4 separate regions of the Homo sapiens genome follow, and regions 2, 3 and 4 are each linked to region 1. The links are contacts of gene promoters, found by promoter capture Hi-C in human tissues and cell types (Jung and others, 2019). All regions are on one chromosome and are shown on one strand. The core of a region is centred on a gene start or on the middle of the fragment in contact, and the rest is flanking DNA. Distances in the headings are between cores, read along the strand shown. Region 1 holds the start of PTPN23 (protein tyrosine phosphatase non-receptor type 23). Region 2 overlaps PTH1R (parathyroid hormone 1 receptor). Region 3 holds the start of SMARCC1 (SWI/SNF related BAF chromatin remodeling complex subunit C1). Region 4 overlaps SETD2 (SET domain containing 2, histone lysine methyltransferase).

Region 1 (2,677 bases), core at 118-2,617:
ATCGTGCCATTGCACTCCAGCCTGGGCAACAAGAGCGAAACTCCGTCTCAAAAAAAAAAAAAAAGGTAGGAAAAAGAAACAGCAGATGAAGAAGAGAGCAACGTCTGGATAACCGTTAACAAAATTCTAGAATTTTGGATCAATTACCCTCATTTCCTGGCCCCAAGAGGCTAGATGATGGACTCAAACACTGTCTGAACTAAGGCAATGGTGTATGGCGATTAGAGGGGAGACAGCTTCTTGGGAAACTACTTCCAAACCCATTTTCTTTTTCCTATTTGTCTTCCCAAGCGTCTCGCTAAGTGGTGCACCATCTAGATTGGGGCTTACTCTGGCATCTGCTGTGCTAAGCCCACAAGGCCCCCCACCTGCGACGGCCTCCTGGTTGTTCCTTTTCATTTCTGCTCTAGCCCTCAGTGCTACCAATACAGCGGATGTCTCGGAGGGCACCTGTGTTCAATCACCACACCTGAACCTCTCCACAGAAGTTCCTTGCCTTAGTCAACGCCAAACCTGCCCGTCTGTTCTTCCAACACAGTAAGATTTCTCTGAGCTCTACAACACTGTTTATGCCCTCCAGTCGGTTACGAAAAGCAGTAACCCTCCTAAAAATGTCGTGGGATTGTATTGTTTGGTCCAAAGAGACTCCCGAATGGGAGACCATACAGAATCGCAGCAATTGTAAAACAAACCCTCACCGCAGGGGTCGGGCATCTCCCTGGGCCACCGGGGCTCACGTCTTAAACACACGCCCCTGAGCCATCCCCAGTGTCTGTCCCAGGCGGGCGTGGACTTGACAGCGCACCGAGGGCCGGGCGCAGCAAAAGAATCCGCACGGTCAGGGCCGCCCACCGCTCCCGCGCGGGGCGGTCCTGGCATGGAGGAGGGGCGGGGCAGAACTGGGTCCGAGCGTCAGAAGGAGGAAGTGTGCTGCCTCAGTGGGAACAGCGGATGACTCGGGGCAGAAGTCGGGAACCGGGTTCAGATGAAGATGCAGGTGCTAGCACGGGGCTATCGGGGAGGAGAAGAATGGCCTGCGGGCGCCGGGGTGTGGGACAGGCTGAGGAAAACCGGCGAAGGCCCCTCCTGGCCTCACCGGACCCTGCGACCGGGCCTGAGGAGGTGATGGGCGCGCAGGGGGGCGTCACGCGCTTGCAGACGACGGAGATACGCGGCGGATAGGGGGGAAGATGGAAGGCAAGCTCACCTTCTTCACAGCTGGCTGGAAGTGAAAGTCACCGGCCTCCTTCAGGTCCAGCCAGATCATGGGCATGCGGGGCACGGCCTCCATGGCGGCTGGCACCCGCCGGCCACCCGGCCACTCCCGTAGCTGCTGCAGCTGCTGGCTCAGCCACGAGCCCAGCCCCGCCCCTTCGTGCCGGAAGTCACTGGTCACGGGAGGGAATGAAAAATGCCAGCGGCCTGCCGGGAGTTGCAGTGAACCCAGCCACCCGCTCGCGTAGTCTTTTGCGCAGGCGCTGTCCCTGTTGCGCATGCTCAGTCTTCTTCGCGCGGAGGGAGTAGGGCGGGGAGGAGCTCGCCAGCCCGAGGCGAAACGGCTTCTGGGATAGTAGTCTTCATCCACTAAACTGAGAGGCGCGGAGCGAGCTTATTCCCCGCTCCCGGGCCAAGCCCAGCTGCGGGTCCCGCCCGCCGCGCTCCTCCCTCCTAGGAAGAGCATGAGACCTCACCTATGAACTTGCCCTCCCACGTATTGTCAAGAGCCGTGGAGGACTGGTGCTGTGGTAGAGATGACGTGGCGGGCGGGCCGCTGGAAAGAGATGACGCGAAAACGGGCCTTAGAGAGGGTGCGGAGGGAGCACCTGGCCTGAAGGAGTCGGGGCTGAGAGCTGGGGGTTTCAGTCCCAGTGCTGCGAAGGCTTTCGAGCTTTGGAACAGAATCACTGACCGGAGACTGGCCTACTCAGCCCAGCCTGGGAGGCCGGGCAGTGCCCAAGGGAGACGGACGATAGGGAGGGAGCGCCTGGATGGAGGGTCTCAAGCGGAGTGAGGAGGCCCCGGGCCCTGTGGGGAAGTGGGTGGGGGAAGGTATACGGCCAGGTGAGCACCCAGGGACGCCCACAGTATCTGGAAGGAGACCACGGAATGGAGAGCACCTGTTGCCTCTGGAGAGGGGACCTATAGAGCAGGAATTGTTAAATCATATGGCTGTATCACCTACTTTTAGAAATAAATAATAGGCTACTCGGGAGGCTGAGGCTGGAGGTTCAATCGCTTGACCTGGGAGGCGGAGATTGCGGTGAGCCTAGATCTTGCCACTGCTCTCCAGCCTGAGCGACAGAGCGAGACTCCGTCTCAAAATAATAATAGTAACAATAGAAATAACAGAGAATGGCCTGGAGATAGTGAGTGCAAAAGTGCGAGCTGGGAGATCAGTGAGCCTTTTGTAGTCTTCCAGGAGACAGGTGATTGTGGCTTGGAGCAGAGGGAAGTAAAAAGTGAGCAAAGAAATATTTTGCCCACTTTGAGAAATATTTGAGGAATATTTTGGAGACAAAAGTATCAGAACTTGGAATGGATGGATGTAAGGGCATGAGGACGTCGAATATGATTTCCAAGCTTCTGGCTTGTGCAGGTGGGTGGCTGTGGGGCTGTTTACTGATAAGGGAAAACAAGGGAAGAGCAAAGGTTCAGGTCCGTGTTAAGCTCGAGGTCA
Region 2 (2,677 bases), core at 98-2,597, 490 kb after region 1:
CTACCCAAACTGCTAAAAATGGTTTTCCCTAGAAGGGAACTGGGGCTTGGGAGTGATCAAGGAGGGCTTCTGTTTAATTTTTATTGATTGACTCTCTCTCTTTTTTTTTTTTTTTTTTTTTCAGAGACAGGGGCTCACTCTGTCACCCAGGCTGGAGTGAAGTGGCATGATCGTAGCTCATTGCAGCCTTGAACTTCTGGGCTCAAGCAATTCTCCCTCCTCAGCCTCTCAAGTATCTGGGATTACAGACTTGTTTGACTCTTTTATAAGAACATATTCATATATCAGTTGTGAAGTTAAAAATTAACAAAATAACAGAAGGATTTAATTTTTTTTTTCTTTTTTACAGAGCCTCTGTCGCCCAGGGTGGAGTGCAGCAGCGTGATCTCGGTTCACTGCAACCTCTGCCTCCTGGGTTCAAGCGATTCTCCTGCCTCAGCCTTCCAATAAGCTGGGATTACAGGCACGTACCACCACGCGTGGCTAATTTTTGTATTCTTAGTAGAGATGGGGGTTTCACCATGTTGGCCAGGCTGGTCTCGAACTCCTGGCCTCAGGTGATCTGCCCGGCCTCCCAAAGTGTTAGGATTACAGGTGTGAGCCACTGCACTCGGCCATGATTTAATTTTTAAAAAAGAAAAAAGAAAGAGAAAACCCAGAGTGAGACATGAGGATCTCCTGCCAGCAGCAAATCTCGTGCTGCTTTTGAGGAAGGAATTCAGTGCAAAGGTCTAAAGATCTGGGTTCAAATCCTGCTGTGCCACAGACTCACTGTGTGACTCTCAGGGCCCTTTAGCGTAGAAATCACTGGGTGAATGGATGAAATAAGAAAACAATCTGTGACAGTTTCTAGCTCAGAATCTGGGGACAGCCACTGTTCTGTACATGTTGGCTTCTTCCTGTCTTTAAAAGCAAGCAACCGGCCGGGCGTGGTGGCTCACGCCTGTAATCCCAGCACTTTGGGAGGCCGAGGCGGGCGGATCACGAGGTCAGGAGATCGAGACCATCCTGGCTAACACGGTGAAACTCCATCTCTACTAAAAATACAAAAAATTAGCTGGGCATGGTGGCGGGCGCCTGTAATCCCAGCTACTGAGGAGGCTGAGGCAGGAGAACGGCGTGAACCCGGGAGGCAGAGCTTGCAGTGAGCCGAGATCGCACTACTGCACTCCAGCCTGGGCGACAGAGTGAGACTCTGTCTCAAGAAAAAAAGCAAGCAAGCAACATGGCCAAGCTGCCCCTGGAGCAGGCTGGAAAAGGTCCCACACACTCCCAGCCTGTGAGTCCACACCACAGTCTCTTGTGAGTCCTACCCAGTGGTCACATCTTCACACTCAAGGCCTGCCCCATGCTGAGCTCCAGCTTCTCTTGTTGCAGTTTCTCCTCCACATGTGTACATGCTGGGGGGGTCCTTAGGAGGACGCATCCTCAAGGACAAGAGTGCCCCTTTGCCTCCTACTCACAATCTGTGGGTCTATCACTTCCTCCAAACTCCACCCCGCCCCAGACTCCAGGCTCCCAGGTAACTGTTTCCTGTACAGCAGAAGATGGACCAGCTGAGTCTGGCCACAACCAGTGTCCTCCAGATGGAATGCTCTTTGGCCCCCCAAATGTGAGGTCACTGGAGATGTGAGCCTGGTCTTGGGACCAGCTGGGCAGGTAGCATACAGGTTTGGTGACCGGCCATGAGATAAGGTTGGTGGGCTTGAGGGGCATAGGTGCAGATCTAAAGGGGGGCAGTAGCCCTCTGGGCTCAGGAGAGGGAGCTGGCAGGCTGCCAGCTTCTTGCTGGCCCCAGATGAGTCCAGGGGGCCCATAGGATATTGGATGGGTGAGTAGGCTGCCCCCGCCCTTCAGTCCCAATCTTCTGGCCCCGAAGCCAGGGAGTGTCCAGTGAACTCACATGCCCCAACAAGGTCCTGGGCAGACTGAACACTGGCATCTGTCCTTCTACTCTCAGACATGGGCCAGGGCAAAGCCAGGAAGATTCTCTGCATATATCTCAGCTTCCCTGGAGAGCAGTGGGGCTCTGGGTACCCATACTCCACACACACATAGAGGCACAGGGCTTGGCATGAGATAAATAATGGTCATTGTGGTTGTGTGATTCGGGCCAGTTAAAAATGGGGACAATAACCTTCCTCTGAGGGTGGTTGGGAGGATTAGACTAGCTAATGTACGTGAATTGCTTAGAACAATGGCAAGTAGAAAGCCCTACAGAAGCATTTATGAAATACACATAAGAAAACAACAGGCCCGGGTGCACAGGCGCTCACAAAGGCACACACAAACACACACAACTGCGCCTCCAAGTCATGCACCACAACTTCAGACACGTGAACTCACACAGGGACTCAGACACTCACAATCACACAGACCCAGATGAACACCATGCCCAGAGTCCCACAGAACCCTGCTCTGACACATAGACTTACTCTCAGGACACCCACACCCATCACCCTGTCTACCCCTCAGGCCGTCACACACCAAACTCCGGGGGTGGGGTTGGTGGTAGTTCTATCCCCTGGCATTCGTCAGTACTTGGAGTGTCTCTGCAGAGGGTGTTGAGCTCCTCTGAACCTCAGTTTCCCCATCCACAAGGCCTTGTATGGGGCTGTCTTTGGTGGGGAGCCTTTGCTGGGGCCAGAATTGTGAGGGTGTAGGCACAGGTAAGTGG
Region 3 (2,677 bases), core at 72-2,571, 400 kb before region 1:
CCCTCAGGAGATCCTGAAAACATGTACACACCCTCATTTTTAAAAGATCTCAGAAACTTACCAGCAGTTAGTCACGTTCTCACAAGCAATTAGTTACTTGCTTCTCTGCGATCATATAGCATTATGTTCACAACTCCATTATGGCCAGTCATACTTTTTATGTTTCTGAAACAGGGTTTCGCTCTGTCGCCCAAGCTGAAGTGTAGTGAGTGGCGCGATTATAGCTCACTGCAGCCTCCATCTCCCCAGCTCAAGGGATCCTCCCACCTCAGCCCTCCAAGAGGCTAGGACCACAGGCTTGCAACACAACGCTGGCTGATTTTTGTATTTTTTGTAGAGACGGGGATGGGTGTGGTGGTCTAGAGCTCCTGGGCTCAATTGATCCTCCCGCCTCAGCCTCCCAAAGTGCTCCGCACCCGGCCAATATACCTTGTTAATAATTTAAAAATTTTCGGCTTCTATGTGGGCCATTCATTAACTCATCAAGTATTTACTGTACATCTGTTCCTTGTCTCAGGTGTTCAGGATACACCTGTGAACAAGTTAAGATTAGGTTCTCATGTAATTTATGTGGAAGGTAAATGAGAAACTAGAAACGCCGGGTCGTGGTGAGCGCTATGCAGAAAGTGTATGGGTGTGAACAGTTGTTCAAGATTGTTAAGATCTGACAACTACTTTCTGAAGTCCTTTGAAGCAGTGAATCTGAACGCGTCTCGTAAGTGCAAATCAGAAGGGAAGACCTGCTGAGGTCTCGAAAGAGCCAGTGCAAGGGCCCCTGGGGCAGGAATGAGCCGCTGTGGCTGGACCCCTGAGGGAGTGGAAGGTCTGTGAAGCCGAAAAGCCTAGGCGTGGGAGTCCCAGATGGCTGTTCACAAATGCCGCCGGGCCGCTGGGGGTGGAGGGCCTGAGGGAAAGCGGGGCCCGGCGCAGTCCCAGTCCGGGTGCAGGGCCCTCGGCCAGCACTCGATACCCTAGACAGGCTTTCCCTTGGGCATTTCTCGCACCAGGCCTTTTCCCTCCAGCGGAGGCGGGCTATGACACATAACCCACCTGCGGTTGTTGACCGCATAATGATTCGACGTCGGTAGCGAGGGAAGAGCAAGGCTCAAAAACCGGCGCTCACTAGGGCAGAATGCAGCCTACGGAGGATGGCGGAAGAGGCGGCTGAGGCCGCAGGACGTGCTATTCCAAGGCACGGCCGCACGAGTGCTACGCATGCGCGTGCGCTGGCTCGCGTCAGATACAGTGCCAGTTCCCAGATGGGGCGGGGCCGGGCGTCCGCGCCGGAAGAGGGTTGGCTGGGCGGGGCCGGGAAGCGGCAGTGGCGGCTACGCGCGCGGGGGTGCGCGCGGGAACGACCGGGAAACACCGCGAGGGCCGGGGTGGGCCAGGCTGTGGGGACGACGGGCTGCGACGATGGCCGCAGCGGCGGGCGGCGGCGGGCCGGGGACAGCGGTAGGCGCCACGGGCTCGGGGATTGCGGCGGCAGCCGCAGGCCTAGCTGTTTATCGACGGAAGGATGGGGGCCCGGCCACCAAGTTTTGGGAGAGCCCGGAGACGGTGTCCCAGCTGGATTCGGTGCGGGTCTGGCTGGGCAAGCACTACAAGAAGGTGGGTTCGCGCGCCCGTGGGGGCCGGGAGACCACGCGACCGGGGCCGGAGGCGGCAGCTGGCCTCGCGGGCCTCGGGCCGCCCCTCCCCCCCGCACGCCACGAGGGACAACAAAGGCAGGCGCCGGGCCCGCCACGCCCCCGCCGCCCGCTCTGGGCGCCCGCGATCCCGGGGCCTGACTGGGGTTCGGGGCTCTCTCCTCTGAGCCTACGCACCCATGGTGAAAGCCCCTGCTCAGTCTCGTGTGCCAGAGCAGGTCGAGCTCAGCCACTAAGCGAGTGTGACTCTCTCTCTTTTGTCAGCTGCCTTAGGTGTGTGAACAATGATCCCTAAAGACCGAGCAAGCGTGGTAAAAGCAGCTTCAAGTTTTGTTTAGAGCGTATTCAAAGTCTCGAGGGGGTTTGCTACCTGTTGTTGAATTGCTAAACGACTGGGATGATTGTATTCGTTAATTAATAACAGGCAATATGAATTCTAGGATGGATGAGAACTATTAACGACGGTTCTACCTCATCGTGCTTCTGGTTCTGTGTGGCGTGAGAGTTGATGGTCGCTTGTACGTAAAGTGTTCTAAAGGGAGGCCTTCCCCAAGAACCCAGTTTTTATTAGAGCACTTTTCTTGTGTCACCTTTATTTTCTTCGTAGTGTTTACCACATTTTGAAATTATTCATTTACTGATTTCTCCTACCTTTGGAACGGAAGTTCCGCCGAGTCAGTAGTTTTCAAAGTTTTGACTTAATCCTTTGTTTATAACAAATGTTTTTTTTTTTTCCAACTTCCCTTTTGTGTAAATATTCAGGAGGACTCCCTTAAAGGGTGTAATGAAGCAGGTAGCCGAAAAGGCTCCCCAGCCTCTGAAGTTTTCCTATCACCCTCTTTAGTTCTGTACTTTCTCCTATTGAGAATCATAGCACTGAAGCAAGGGCTTTGTTCACTGCAGTGTATCCGGGAACGTGGCTGATACTTATTGCCTTACCCTTAGTGGCTGCTTAGTAAATATTTGTTGAATGAATGAAAACATAAACTAGTTTAGGAACCTATTTTTTTGGCCTCAGCAGCTCAGTG
Region 4 (2,677 bases), core at 105-2,604, 270 kb after region 1:
TCCTGGGTTCAAACAATTCTCCTGCCTCAGCCTCCCAAGTAGCTGGGATTACAGGCGTGCACCATCATGCCCGGCTAATTTTTGTATTTTTCAGAGAGACAGGATTTCACTATGTTGGCGAGGGTGGTCTTGAATTCCTGACCTCAAGTGATCCACCTGCCTTGGCCTCCCAAAGTGCTGGGATTACAGGCATGAATCACCGTACTCAGCCCCCTCTGGTGTAGTTTTAATCATCGTTAAAACCTTTATATCTATCACATATTAAGAAGTCAATCAGTGTTCGATTTTATCATTTTTACTCTAGGATCCATGGGAGAAGAGCCATGCCATGTTATTCTGTTTACTCTGAACAAGGATATATTTAATAATGACTTTAGATTTTCTCAATTGTAGATCAAGTAGTTAGCTGCATTCAAAAAATGAAATTAAAAGTGATTAGAGTAGAAGGAAGGGAAGGTGCACTTACAGAATATAAGTTCTGCAGAGTTGTCAATGTACTGAAAGCTTACATGCAGCCTGAAAATGTATTCTAGACACCTAGGGAGTGGTAGATATTTCTGTGATGACCAGATATCAAGGCTGTATTGTGGGTATGATCTGTTTAAGTAACAATGTAGATACTCAGTTCTAAGGAATCCCTTTGTGATGGAAGGAAAGGAAGACTTAGTTGGGGGTTAGTCATACATATGCTAATTATACCATAAAAGTATGTATATATGTAGTTATACTAACACATTTTTTCAAAGTTACTTTGGTTCTTTTGCTGCTTTAAAGAATTAAATTTCCTCCTTTTCTCATTTCAGTTCTTCTCGGTGTCCAAATGGGGATTATTGTTCCAATAGACGGTTTCAGAGAAAACAGCATGCAGATGTGGAAGTCATACTCACAGAAAAGAAAGGCTGGGGCTTGAGAGCTGCCAAAGACCTTCCTTCGTAAGTTCTTTTTTAATTACCTTTCACTTCCTTTTTTGAGACAAGGTCTCACTCTTTCACCCAGACTGGAGTGCAGTGGCACGATCTTGGCTCACTGGAACCTCTACCTCCCGGATTCAAGCAATTCTCCTGCCTTAGCCTCTCAAGTAGCTGGAACTACAGGCTCATGCCACCATGCCCAGCTAATTTTTTTTGTATTTTTTTGGTAGAGACGTTGTTTCACCATGTTGGCCAGGCTGGTTTCGAACTCTGACCGCAAGTTTTCCGCCCACCTTGGCATCCCAAAGTGCTGGGATTACAGGTGTGAGCCGTCGCGCCTGGGCTTCACTTCATTTTTGTGTTGTTGAACTTAGATGTTTTTGTAGGGAAACAATTTCTTTATTACACTGAGGTTTAATGATGATTATTATGTAGAATGACCACTTGGTAGCTAGTTTGTTGTTAAAAAATCTTTTTTTCTTTTTTGGTAATTATGTTTTCTTTAATTCCAAGCAACTACCAAGTGTTTACTGTGGACCCCCAGAATCTCTATGAAGCTATATAAAAAGAAGTTGGGACAGAATCCATTAGTATACATAAAATTGAGTTGGGATAAGAGTAGAAGAGAAGGCCAGGTGCAGTGGCTCATGCTTGTAATCTCAGCGCTATGGGAAGCTAAGTGGGAGGACTGCTTGAGCCTGGGAGTTCAAGGTTACAGTGAGCTGTGATCACGCCACTGCATTCTAGCCTGGATGGCAGTGATCTCTTGTCTCTTAAAGAAAAAAAAAAAGAGTAGAAGAGAATACCTGAGCATATCAAGGTTAAGAATTAAAACATACTTGATAGATAATCATTAAACATTTCTTGAATGAATAAATGTTGCTTTCCATGTAACTGATGTAAGTTTTTAATGTAATACAGCAAAAGGTTCACTTTATTTTCTACCATATTCAGTATTTCCTGGAAATGTTTAATTTTCTTATATATAGCATATTTAAAGTATTCTTGGCCGGGCATGGTGACTCATGCTTGTAATCCCAGCACTTTGGGAAGCCAAGGTGAGTGGATCACCTGAAGTCGGGAGTTCGAGACCAGCCTGGCCAACATGGCGAAACCCCGTCTCTACTAAAAATACAAAAATTAGATGGGTGTGGTGGCGCACGCCTATAATCCCAGCTACCTGGGAGGCTGAGGTAGGAGAATCGCTTGAACTTGGGAGGTGGAGGTTGCAGTGAGCCGAGATCATGCCACTGCCCTCTAGCCTGGGAGACAGAGCAAGACTCCATCTCGAAAACAAACAAAAAACCCAAAATTACGCTGGACGTGGTGGTTCACGCCTGTAATCCCAGCACTTTGGGAGGCCGAGGTGGGCAGATCACCTGAGGTCAGGAGTTCAAGACCAGCCTGGCCAATGTGGTGAAACCCTGTCACTACTAAAAATACAAAAATTAGCTGGATGTGGTGGCAGGCACCAATAATCCCAGTTACTTGAGGGGCTGAGGCAGGAGAATCTCTTGAACCGGGGAAGCGAAGGTTGCAGTGAGCCGAGATTGCGCCATTGTACTCCATCCTGGGTGACAAGAGTGAAACTCTGTCTCAAAAAACAAAACAAAAATTAGCCAGGCATGATGGCGCACAGCTGTAATCCCAGCTACTCGGGAGGCTGAGGCAGAAGAATTTGCTTGAACCCACGAGGAGGAGGTTGCAGTGAGCCGAGATCATGGCACTGCATTCCAGCCTGGGGGACAGAGCGAGACTGTCTCCAA

The links. Contacts are between HindIII fragments. The study calls those that stand out against the background at their distance.
Region 2: a contact is called between a fragment that was not itself captured here and the fragment with the promoter of PTPN23 in region 1, in 2 of the 25 tissues and cell types used here (lymphoblastoid cells and spleen).
Region 3: a contact is called between the fragment with the promoter of SMARCC1 here and the fragment with the promoter of PTPN23 in region 1, in 1 of the 25 tissues and cell types used here (mesenchymal stem cells).
Region 4: a fragment that was not itself captured here is called in contact with the fragment with the promoter of PTPN23 in region 1 in 2 of the 25 tissues and cell types used here (IMR-90 fibroblasts and lymphoblastoid cells).

The regions. Positions count from the first base shown.
Region 1 is chr3:47,379,711-47,382,387 of GRCh38, reverse strand. PTPN23 (protein tyrosine phosphatase non-receptor type 23) reads right to left here and starts at 1,367. Exons shown (of 25, transcript NM_015466.4): 1 at 1,208-1,367. The coding sequence starts at 1,291. It overlaps PTPN23-DT (PTPN23 divergent transcript), which reads left to right and starts at 896. Exons shown (of 1, transcript NR_185912.1): 1 at 896-2,677. RefSeq lists enhancers at 628-1,303, 1,345-1,564, 1,735-1,794, 1,304-1,981. The HindIII fragment of the contact is 13,956 bases long and covers 1-2,677 here.
Region 2 is chr3:46,884,901-46,887,577 of GRCh38, reverse strand. The region is part of intron 3 of PTH1R (parathyroid hormone 1 receptor); the gene reads right to left. Among named protein-coding and RNA genes, the nearest start is that of PTH1R, 8.5 kb to the right of the region's middle. The HindIII fragment of the contact is 5,915 bases long and covers 1-2,677 here.
Region 3 is chr3:47,780,537-47,783,213 of GRCh38, reverse strand. It overlaps SMARCC1 (SWI/SNF related BAF chromatin remodeling complex subunit C1), which reads left to right and starts at 1,321. Exons shown (of 28, transcript NM_003074.4): 1 at 1,321-1,611. The coding sequence starts at 1,417. RefSeq lists silencers at 578-637, 748-797, 1,208-1,427, 1,608-1,847 and an enhancer at 1,081-1,375. The HindIII fragment of the contact is 21,057 bases long and covers 1-2,677 here.
Region 4 is chr3:47,112,131-47,114,807 of GRCh38, reverse strand. It overlaps SETD2 (SET domain containing 2, histone lysine methyltransferase), which reads left to right. Exons shown (of 21, transcript NM_014159.7): 5 at 804-932. Among named protein-coding and RNA genes, the nearest start is that of SETD2, 51 kb to the left of the region's middle. RefSeq lists enhancers at 82-590, 591-1,098. The HindIII fragment of the contact is 3,414 bases long and covers 1-2,677 here.